3 separate regions of the Homo sapiens genome follow, and all the other regions are linked to region 1. Evidence: promoter capture Hi-C in 16 types of primary human blood cells and fetal thymus (Javierre and others, 2016). All regions are on one chromosome and are shown on one strand. Each heading gives the region's core, a stretch centred on a gene start or on the middle of the fragment in contact. The rest is flanking DNA. Distances are from core to core; before and after follow the strand shown. Region 1 holds the start of ARHGAP10 (Rho GTPase activating protein 10). Region 2 overlaps ARHGAP10 (Rho GTPase activating protein 10). Region 3 overlaps ARHGAP10 (Rho GTPase activating protein 10).

Region 1 (3,818 bases), core at 877-3,376:
TGCCCTCTGCCTCTCTCCACACCTCTCTAGCTCCAGAGGGAACTACTACAACCAATGAGAGAGAAGGTACATTCTCCCGGCCACTGACTCTGGTTAACATCAAGTTACAGAAAGAGTCCTCAGTCCTCATTCTCTCGTGTTCACTCTGCACCCCCGCTCCCAACTCCTCCTTTCTATGCTCACTCCTCCATATGTATAGGCGCCCCCCTACTTCCCACCCAACACACATACCAGATGCCAAGGGCCTGGAGAGCCCTCAACCAAATAAGCCCACTTGTCACATGTCCCAGAGTCCCATTTCTGATTCAAGCAGCAGAGACTTAAAAACAAAACAAAAAAACCCTAAGTGAGTCCCAGTCCTGATTTTGCAACACCAAAGAGGTCAGAGAACCAAAAGGAACCTTGGAGATCATCCAGAGAAGTTGAGTGACTTGCCTCCAAAATTACAGGGATGGCTCACTAAATTCTTCCCACAGAAATGTACTTCAACTTATTCATTAAATGCATATTTACTGTACCAGGCACCATGCTGGGTGCCCGAGACAGTATAATCAATATGTTTTAATCGCCCTTACTGAAAAATGGGGCGGGGCGCGGTCGGGAGAACAGTGAGATGGGGGATTTTCCCCAGAGGTGGTATCTACAAACAAATGTACAAGGGACGAATACCTAAGGCTGAGAATTACTGAACTGAGAATCTAGGTGAGTGATGAAGGCCCTAAGAACCCAGCCCCTCAAGGCTGGATACTGCCCAAGTCCCTGTCTGCTGTATGGACAGGTCTTTTAAAGGGGGAAAGGGGACATTCACCGCCATCCTCCGAAGGGGTTATGGATCCAAGGGATGGTCAGGCTGCCCAGCTCCTCACTGGGGCTAATTCCGCCCCATTTTCCAGTAGCATCACTAACTCAGTATTTCTGCATGAATTTTGGCCCCTTCTCTCCTAGAAAGACTCTCCTCAACTACACTAAAATACAGTTATCTCTCCTGTATCTCGTGTCTTCTTCCGAGTTTAAGAGACAGAAGTTCAGGGGAGGAAGGCACCAAGCCTAACCGGGGTGGAATTCCCTATTTGCAAGCAGTGCCCGCCTAGGCTAGAGGGCAGGCTGTCCGCTCACCCTTCCAAACCCCAATCTTTGAACCCTCCTCAGCACGGCAGGGGAGGAATGTGCGGAAGCAGCATAAAGCCAGGTGGACTTTCTGGTTTGGCACGTGAAGGACCTGGAACAGGACTGTCGGGGAAGATCAGACAATGAGAGGGAAAAGGTGAAGCTTAAGGGGACTCTGGAAAACTCAACACTCCCGCAGGGTTTCAAAGAATCCCCAAGAAATTTCTTTTGAGAAGTCACAAAACAAAACTAGGCAAACAGATGCCTCGGTTTTGTAAGAGATTGTGAGTAGCTTTAGGCAGCAATGAAACCTGACTCCGGGCCAGGAGTGCCTAGGGTCGGTCCAGCGGAGCGCGCATTCAGCGAGGGGTGTTCGGCCGGGGCCAGGCGGGGCCCAGGCGGGGCCCGCTGGCAGCTGGTTCCCGCCGCCGCAGAGCCGCAGGGGCGGGAATGGGGACTCGCCGCGCTGCCTCGAGGAGGAATGATTCCAGGGACCCCCCGGGGTTCCGAGAGAGCTGGGCTGGTCCGGAATGAATTCCCCGTTCCTCTGGCTGCTGGCCCCGGACACAAGACCCTCCGTCTCCTGCCGAGAGAGGCTCCCCCAGCCGCCTCGCCACGCCGCAGCCCGTCCGCGCCCGCGTCCCCGCTTACTTTTCGTCGCAGCGATGAGGTTCTTCCCGTCCTTAATGAGCTCTTTGATGAACTTGTTGGTCCTCTCGAGTTCCGCTTCGTGAGCGCGGATCCTCTCCCGGAACCACGGGCTGTCGAGGTAGCAGTCGCTGAACTCCAGGGGCTGCAGCCCCATGACGGCAGCGGTCGCTGCGCGGTGCGCACGGCCGCGCGCTCCTGCCCGAGCCGAGCTCCGAGGCCGCTGCCAGGTGCGGCGCCGCGCGTTCAGGGAGCACAGAGGAGCTAGCAGGCCCGGGCGCGCGGCGAGCGCGGCACGGACATGTCCCGTAGAGCCGAGTCCTGCGGCGCGGAGGAGCTGCCACCGAGACCAGCGCTAGCTGCGGCGCCCCAATCCCGGCAGCCCCCGCCGAGCTCTGAGCGCCCGCGGCCCCGCCCCGCCCGGCCCCCGCGCGGCAGACACTCCCCGAGGCGCCACCCGGCCGGGCCCGCGCTCCCGCTCGTCCCCTTCTCTTTCCTCCGCCTTCCTTCTTCCTCCCTTCCCTTCCCTGGACGCCTCTTCCTTCTCTTCCCCACGCGCAGCTGCCCCTCCTCTTCCTTCCGAGGCGTCCTGGGGCTAGAATTTCGCCCCGCGGCTCCCCTCCACCCTGGGCGCTCTCCCCTCCCCTTTGCTTGGGCTCCCGGGGCCGGGGTGACTCACAGTCGGCTCCCCGCTGCACGGAACCCGACCGGGACCGAGAAGGAGCGTCTTAATTGCAGTCGTTAGTCCCCGCAGGCGGGCGACATAACTCTGAAGTGGCTGCCTTGCAGGAGATGATTAACTCATTTATCTCATTTATCCTGGGACGCCCCCAACCCCGAGCTGGGAACGAACTCGCACAGGGGGCTCTTTTCCTTATCCCGGTTCCTTTCCCAGTTTAAAGTGAGATGCGTGGTAAATCTCCGCTTGAGATCGAAGCCTTACAATGGCAAGAGCGTTTTCTTGGTGGCCCAGCAGCTCCTATTACACTTCTCTGCGTATCCGCACTAAATAACTTAGTTGAAGAGAGAGGGCTGGCTAAACCACAGAAAAGTTGTTTCTGTTGTGTTCAGCACATTAAATTTGCTGGGGTAGGTGAAGACGATCTTTATTATTCTAAAAATAACTACCGGAAAACATGCCAGGTAACGTGTGGTTTTCACCGCGTGGGGGTGACGATCAATGAGAATTTATGTCAGTGCCCTCAAAAAGCCTATTTTGTGTGTTATGAAACAACTCCAGTGTGTCCCAAAAAAAGTTAGGCATTTTAAAGTATTAAAATGTATACCTTAGGCCGGACGTGGTGGCTCACGCCTGTAATCCCAACACTTTGGGAGACGGAGGCGGGTAGATCACCTGAGGTCAGGAGTTGGAGACCAGCTGGCTAACATGGTGAAACCCCGTCTCTACTTAAAATACAAAAAGTACCCGGGTGCGGTGGCACGTGCCTGTAGTCCCAGCTGAGGCAGGAGAATCGCTTGAACCCAGGAGGCGGAGGTTGCAGTGAGTCGTGATGGTGCCACTGCACTCCAGCCTGGGCGACAGAGCGAGACAATGTCTCAAAAAAAAAAAAAAGTATTTCTTAAAAAAAAACACTAATAGTTCATTAGAGTAACGTTTCATAATCGCAATTTATTAAGCAATTATTATGTGCCGGGCACCCACTAGGAACTCCATACATCTACAAACTCGCGATATAGACTTACATGATATGATGGTAATATTAACGAGAAACTTCAAAGTAATTCCTCAAGACGTTCAGACTCTCAGCTGGGTAATTAAGAATCTGTTTGGACAGCATGTTGTAGGAGGGTAACCCTCCCGAACAAGTTAAATAAGCCTCCTACTCAATAAGCCCTTTTGTTACAAAACAGCACCAGGAGTGCCTAACCCACAGATAAACATTATTACTCTAATGTCCATCCTCCAGAGAGTTCAAAGTGTTTTACAAATAACTTTTAGGCGGTGAAAGCTTCAGTTCCTACTAAAACCAGCAGGAGACTGGAGTCTACAGAAAAGAGAATAAAAGAGGCAAATAAAGGGGAAGAAAGACAAGAAGAGAGGG
Region 2 (3,818 bases), core at 558-3,057, 300 kb before region 1:
CACAGAAGCAGCTATGTATTTTTTTTAAAGGCATTAAATAAGCTTTTTTTTTTTCCTCCTCCACAGAAAGGGGGAAATGTTCATCCCACACAGAAGCACAGTTAAAATTACATAGGAAGCAATAGAAGAAGTTGCCTTTCACTTTGTCACTAGCATTGGGGTTGGTGGGGGGGGGGATGCTGAGCCTCACGGGAGGTTTCTGGGGAGACACCAACGCAGGGGAGGCATCCCACATAATTTCTAGGCACGCCACAACTCAATTACAGCCCTGAATCTTCTGGCTGCCTTTTCCAACCCATTGATCTCATCATTGTAAAAGTGAGTTAAGAAATAATCTGTCTACATATACTGTCACACATTCAAGCCTGGTCTTAGATTAAACTTCACAACACAGTAATTCCATGTCAAGGAATCATAACACTGCTGTGAGGAGATGGCAAAGGGCTTCTGGGCTTGGGAAGTTATTATCCAGAGCCCACCCATGAAATGCCATGCCAAAAAAAAATTGGTAAGCATGGAGAAAAGACAGACTGCCCATCTTAATGCAAAGGTCTGCTTAGTCCAGTTACCTGGATTGATTATAATCTGCATCAAGCTGATCACATGTTTACAAGGAAACATCTATAGCTACAGAATGTCAACGAAAATCCATGCCAACAATGGTTTTCCAGTTGTCCTTCTCACACCTCCACATAGTTTGTGTCCTGCTAACATCGTGGGAAAGACAGAGTAGTTACAATTCACTTATGAAAGCACATTTTCATAAAGAGGCATTCTATAGATGCTCTCTTGGGAGCTGAGATTACAGAGTGCACCGCTGCCGTGAATGTGAGCTATCCTTGGCTTCTAATGAAGGGTCTCACTAGAGTGAGTGGCCTCCCATCCCTTAATATGAGCCTATGGATGAACGTGGATATATGTGCCTGTGAGGAAAAATTGGAGAAAAATGAGCTGTACTTTGCTCATAGTTATAGGACTGTTCTTTTTCTAAGCACATGGAATATTTTAGTAACTATTTACTATTTCTCTCTTTCTACTGACTTTCCCATATACACTATTTCCATATACACTATTTATACCAAGACATTCTACACCATTTTTTACTAAACCTATTTTTCAAAGCAGTTACGCATAAGAATACGTATTGAACACACTAACAAAATGGCATGTTTCCTTCCTTTTGATGGAAAGATGGTCTGTTTTTAAGCTGCAAGGAAAAAACTGAAGATAAAAACAAAAACATAAACACAATGATAGATTTACCTATGAGCCTAATCTGTGGCGAATAATGTCCACTTTATCTGCCTTGATCTCTCCATCTAGTCAGTTGAGAAGTCCCCGATTTGCTTTAACATCTCTCCCAGATATCCATTTTATTTTTGCTTTCTAGTGCTAATTCAAGCCCACTTCAACCTCAGCCTAAATTACTTCATCAGCCTTTTACCATGGCTGCCTTTCAGATTTCTACTGGCAGATTAAGTCAGATTAAGTTTCTTAAGTATTATTTTCAAAATGTTACAACTCTTCTCCCTTGCTGAAAAATATTCAGTGGTTCCTCTTATCATTTTAAACCTAAAGCACCTTTCCCTGGCTTTAAGAATACTACCCTACAGCAGCAGCTAGAGTTCGAGTGCTTACTATGTGCCAGACGTTAGGCTAAACACATTAACAACTGAACCTTCTCAACCATCCTCAGTGGTAGATACTATTATTACCCTGATTTTGTAGCTAATAAAATAGATTTAGAGAGGGTAAGCAATTTGTCCATGAGTATACAGTCAGGATACATATTCCCCAGCCCAGGCTCCAATCCACCCATTTGTCCCTTAAGCTGTCTCTCCTGGGTCTAAGTCTTTCACATCAGTTCCGCCCATCATTCACAACTGTCAACACTGTCCCCTTCTAATCAGGGAATCTCCTACCCTCACACCTGGCTCCGGCTCTCTGCTCCTGCCATGCCTCAGTCACGCTACTCCCCTTACCTGAAACCCTTTCCCACCCAACTGCCGAAACAGCTCATTTCAAGGAAACCAGAAAGCACCCCCTACAGACTTCCCTTCCTCAGAGCTAGCACTGGGCACTTACTGCCACGTTGTTTCTTATTTCACTGCAGTGACAAACAGAATGGGAACAGAAAATTAGCTCCTTTAAAGGAAAAACCGTATGTGGCAGGATGTGGAGCATATAAAAGCTCTTCAATTGATATGCAGTATAATTCTGATTTTCATATCTAGTATAATAAAAACCACTAATAAATGGTAGAGGCAAAAAAAACTTCCAAATGGCTAACAGCATTCCATCGTTTAGAATTAAAAATCTACATTTAAAAAGACCGCACAGTGGCCTGCTTTCTAGTTTTCTGTTCTCTTGCTCATGCCTCAAAATCAAACCAAATTCTTTCAACCTACCTAAGACGGCTAATTTATATCATCAGCATTGCTCTCGTTGACGTGTGACATTTAAATTTTAGCTAATTATTCAAAGTTCTAATTTGATATTACTCAGGCTGAAAGGACATCTATATATGACATATTTGTCCTACTCTGATTTTAGAGACTCACCTAGATCAAGATATGTTCCTACTTAGGATACAAGGAAATGATCACGTGTCATTGTTTATCCATCTCTGCCCCGCTCAACAGTAGTATTTTCATTTTTTTGCTGAGAAGGCTCTGTATCCTCATCACGGTATCTACCACGCTGTAGGACTACAATAACACATGCTCAACAAAATGTGCTGCAGTTAGCACATTCGTGATCCAAATGTTAAAGTGCCAACCCGACGATACCCAAGTAAGACCAACACTCAAATGTTATTAAATCTTGCCAATTGGCTTGCAAGATGATTTTGTTTTCAACTCACTATAAGTCATATTTTTTTAAGTTGCCTAAATAAGCTGCTGTATCATGTTACAAAAGAAGACAGGCAAAGAATACTTAATTACACCAGAAGATACATATAAAACCTAGTTCTGTAAATGTCTAGTTTTGTTTAAAATTAGAACTAGCATGAAGAAAGAGATTCAGATGGTAATCCTCTTCTCCCCGACTCCCCAGACCTTTGCTTAAAATTTCTTCTGCCTTGAATGAAAAATAACAAAGATCACTTTGATCTCATATAGCCTCCTGAACTTTCCTTGTATTTGGGGGAATTACAATAAACACAACAGCCCCTCTTTATGTAAGAGATTGTAAGGACATGCACTTGGAGTGGGGGCAGGAGAAAATAAACACATAACATATATTTAACATTTTTAGAGTTATCTTACTAGTAGTTCTAAAGAAATAAAAACATGGGATATAACTTGAAAATGAAATGAAAGCAAACCTTTGATTTCTAATCTTTTCAGCACTTAGCAGCCTACGTCATATTTTGCTTTTTCATAACTGACTTAGCCAAATCTACTCAGCTTTGATGTTGAGATTAAATGTTATATGAAAAATGAGCAATATGGCTTCAACAAAATAAAAGATGAGAATCTCACAAAGATTTAACAGCTGCTCTAATTTAAGAAAACTAGCCAGATACTATATCCATTTTAGTTCATATTAATCATCAATAAAGAAGCTTAAGCAAGTAACTAGAATTTTACAGTCTTTTGCAAATAAATTTAATATCATTTAATCATATATTGCAAAGAAAAATAATGAGCATACACAGTATGGCTAGATGCGCCAATGCCGATGGAAGTCTTTACTAAAGTAAAGACACTCGGTTTATTTAGTTAAACTGGTCATCTCTCAATTGGGAGTGGGGGTGAGGTTGAATGAACATAACAGAAAACATGTCTCCCAGCAGAGGATCTCCCCTCCGGCTT
Region 3 (3,818 bases), core at 891-3,390, 260 kb before region 1:
GTTCCCTCACAACATGGCCTTTGCTCTGTGCATGTACCTCTTAAGGACACCAGGCCTATAGGGTTAGGACCCCACCTTCATGACCTCATTTCACCTGATTACTTCCTTCAAGACCCTGCCTTCAAATACAGTTACAATGGTTAAAGTTAGGGCTTCAACATATGAATTTTGGGAGGGGTCACAGTTTAGTCCATAACAAATGGGTACAGGGAGGATGAGGATTCAGCCAGGCATCTATGCAGCCTGGTCATTGCCCTCATTGCTGTGGTTTTGCTAACACACTTCAAGCTGTGTTCACTCCCCTGACTGGGCTGTACACGATTCCAACAGAAGCTCTGGTCCTTCAGTCCCCCAGGGAGTCTCAGTCTCAGATGGCCAGTCTGGGCCAGTTTATCATCCACTTCCTAGCATTCTCAAGGCACAAGATGGACAGAGTATGAGATGGTCATGTTAAGACAATCACATTGGAAGTTATGAGGGTAGGAAACAAAACATCCCCCTCTATCTCAGGGTTCATCTTTCCCACCTTCCTCTCCTGAGGCAATTCATTTTTTATTTAGTTTCCATTTTGATGTTTTGTTTTCGACTGCCTTTCTGTTTATTGCTGGAGATGGCTAACTCTGGGTGTTTATGATAGAGGTTTCCATAGGCCATATCCTAGCTATTCTCTCCTTTCTCTGAAAAGAGGAGGACAATCAGGAGGAGACTGTACCTTTGTGGAAGTTGCAAGTCTTTACCCAAAGCTGCCCAAACCATCTCCTGCACCTACTTCTAAAGAAGAGCTTTTTGAGTATTTCACACATACAGGCCCCCTGTGGAAGGTCAAGTTGGGAGTATAAAAGAGATGGACCACCAGGCGCAGTGGCTGATGCCTGTAATCCCAGCACTTTGGGAGGCTGAGGCAGGCGGATCACGAGGTCAGGAGATGGAGACCATCCTGGCTGACATGGTGAAACCCCATCTCTACTAAAAATACAAAAAAATTAGCCAGGCGTAGTGGCGGGTGCCTGTAGTCCCAGCTACTCGGGAGGCTGAGGCAGGAGAATGGCGTGAACCCAGGAGGCGAAGCTCGCAGTGAGCAGAGATCGCGCCACTGCATTCCAGCCTGGGTGACAGAGCAAGACTCCGTCATGAAAAAAAAAGAGAGAGAGATGGACCATGCAAATTTTTGGAAATTTTGTTTGCTGGTCTCTAGCCTTTGTCTCTGACTGATACCAGGTTATTATTTTTTCTTCTAACCTACTGGTGGTCTGTATTGTAAGGCTGACAAATCTGTCTTTACTCTGTCATCTTAAAACATGTTTGAGATATCTGTTTTAGATAATAATAAGTAGACAAGAAATAATGCTGGTAAATACATAAGGAAAACATAATATACGGTAACATGTGGCAAGCTCTAACTTGATAAGCTTCCCTACTCCTCCCACACTCCACACTGTAAGTAGATCACATATTTTTATTACAGTATTTTAATATCACCCTTGCTGTTTTCACCTAGAGCCAGGGTTTCTAACCAAGTCTATTCATAGACTTTGGAGGTACTGTGTGCCCTTAAATCGTATATGAATGGTGTATACGCACTGGTATGTTTTCAGAAAGTGGATTATTTTTCATCAAATCCTCAAAAGGATGTGAAACATAAAAACTGGTTATCACTGACCTAGAGGAATGAATGGGAAGGCTGCCAAGAATGGGTAGCAATGGAGAATGAAAAACAATTTATAACAGTTTGGATCTATCTCAATAATAAAATAAAGTAAAAGGGTTTTAAGTTACATAGAATGTGGATAAAAACACATAGACTTCCAAAAAAGTTACACTGTGGATCTGTCTGTGGCCCTAGAAACACAGTTCTGCGGGAACCACAGAATAATACGATTACACACAAGAAACAATTCTCACTCAGAGGACCTTTCCACGTCGACCCATCAATAAGTACAGCTTACTCTGTGCTTATTAGCACATTAAGCACAAATAATCTAATTCCTTCATTAAATGATGAAAATAATGACTAATCCTCTTAGCGGTCATTTCCCCCCATTTCCACCTAAACATAAATGACATTCCAGAGAAATCAAGTATTTGAAGCCTTTCCTAGGAGAATGTTTCAACTTTTACGTATTGCTGGGGCAGAGAAAGACAGACAATTGCCTAAGAATGGGATAGCCTAGAAATAAATTCCATTTTCAATCTACGAATAAAGCAATGTTGATTCAGCAACAAATTAAAGAGTACAGGAGATGGATATTGAGAATAACATTGAGATTACGATCTACATTTTGAGTTTCTGATGTCAACTGTTTCTTTATATGAACATATACAGAATTAGTATCATTCACAAAGGATTATAAATCTTCCCCATAACCTATTAATCCAACTACTTTAGAGATTTACTTTGGCACAGGCTAAAATCTGTAGCCCATGTGCACTTCTGGTAATTAAGAATAAGTAATAATGACGACAAACACCACACCAGCTGTGCAAGGATTAACAAGAACTTTCTTGTGCACACAGCCAGGCACCGGCATGTGTGGCTCAAGCAACTATATAAAGCTCATGACTTTATGAAATCAAATACAGGGATTTCCTTTCTTACTCCCACACATTCCAACAGAGACATACATAAGCACTTTTGTGCAATTTAAACTTGAAGCCATCCATGTAGTAATGTTGACTGAAACACTATGCATCATTTAAGCTCAAAAGGAAAAAAATACAGCCTTGTTTTTCTTGGGACAGTAGAAAGACCACAAGGAACTTTCTAACTGTGTGGCTTAGCTGCCCGAAATCCCTTTTGGAAGAAGTCAGGCTATAAATGAATAAAGCAAGCTGTGTGACCTTGGGCAAGTTAATTTCAGCTCTCCAAGCTTCATTTTCTTGCATTGATCTGTAAACTGCAGATACATCAATACTATCTACCCTTTCAGGGTTGGCTGTTGATTCACGGTTTGCATGAACTAGAGCTTGCCCATGTCTGAAACACCAGCTCCTCACTGAGCCTTTAATGCCTACCCTCTCCCCCAAGCAGACTAGAATGCTTAGGAAAAAGAGTTTTGTATTTCATAATTATATCCATTATATCCTCTGCAGGCCTACTACTGTGAATGGAATAGGTAAATCTTCTGAAGACACAACTATGTTGACTCACAAATAAATGCTTAGTACACGAAGTCTTTAAATTGCAGAAATGGTGTTAACCTGGCTTTGAACAAAGCAAACGACAGGCTCCTTGTAGGTCCAAACTCAGACGATCTCCAGACCATGCTACTGGGTTTCTACTGTGTCACAGTTGCACAGCTGACTTTCTCACTAAATATTGGACTTCTAGAAAGCATGACATGCTTTTTTAATCTTTTGTACCTGTTCACATAGCAGCTTAATGTTTGCTGAATAAATTAATAATTGTATACAAGGATGCTAGCAACAAGTATCAGGTCATTTAACTATTGTTATGAATAATTTCAGACATAAATGTAAGGAAAAAGAATAATATAATGAACTCCTACATACATCATCACCTAGCCGAATCAATTACTAACTCATGACCAATCTTAGTTCATCTATATTCCCACCCTTAAAATTATTGTGAAGCAAATTCCAGGCAGAGTACAGATCTTTAGAGCTTCCAATGATTAGGTTTGACTCTGCTCTAGAATTCTAGATAAATGTATCTCTGTCATATCAAGAAAAACTTACAGAATACTGCATGACAATCAAAAGAATTCATCACTATCTGGTCAAGAAAGAACAAGATATAAACAAAAGCAAAAGCCAAACCCTGCTCCCAAATCATTATGAATTAGGTATGCATAGGTAAG

Evidence for each region. The method cuts DNA at HindIII sites, captures the fragments that hold promoters and counts their contacts. A CHiCAGO score of 5 or more calls a contact.
Region 2: a fragment that was not itself captured here is called in contact with the fragment with the promoter of ARHGAP10 in region 1 in 1 of 17 cell types (M0 macrophages); the score reaches 5.2 in M0 macrophages.
Region 3: a contact is called between a fragment that was not itself captured here and the fragment with the promoter of ARHGAP10 in region 1, in 1 of 17 cell types (M1 macrophages). The highest score is 6.2, in M1 macrophages.

What each region holds. Positions count from the first base shown.
Region 1 is chr4:147,730,396-147,734,213 of GRCh38, reverse strand. It overlaps ARHGAP10 (Rho GTPase activating protein 10), which reads right to left and starts at 2,126. Exons shown (of 23, transcript NM_024605.4): 1 at 1,759-2,126. The coding sequence starts at 1,912. RefSeq lists enhancers at 82-211, 1,340-1,409, 730-1,622, 1,623-2,515 and silencers at 1,520-1,599, 1,910-2,429. The HindIII fragment of the contact is 2,455 bases long and covers 1,273-3,727 here.
Region 2 is chr4:148,026,353-148,030,170 of GRCh38, reverse strand. The region is part of intron 19 of ARHGAP10 (Rho GTPase activating protein 10); the gene reads right to left. Among named protein-coding and RNA genes, the nearest start is that of MIR4799, 250 kb to the right of the region's middle. The HindIII fragment of the contact is 3,526 bases long and covers 45-3,570 here.
Region 3 is chr4:147,993,049-147,996,866 of GRCh38, reverse strand. All of the region lies in intron 18 of ARHGAP10 (Rho GTPase activating protein 10), which reads right to left. Among named protein-coding and RNA genes, the nearest start is that of MIR4799, 210 kb to the right of the region's middle. The HindIII fragment of the contact is 1,458 bases long and covers 1,412-2,869 here.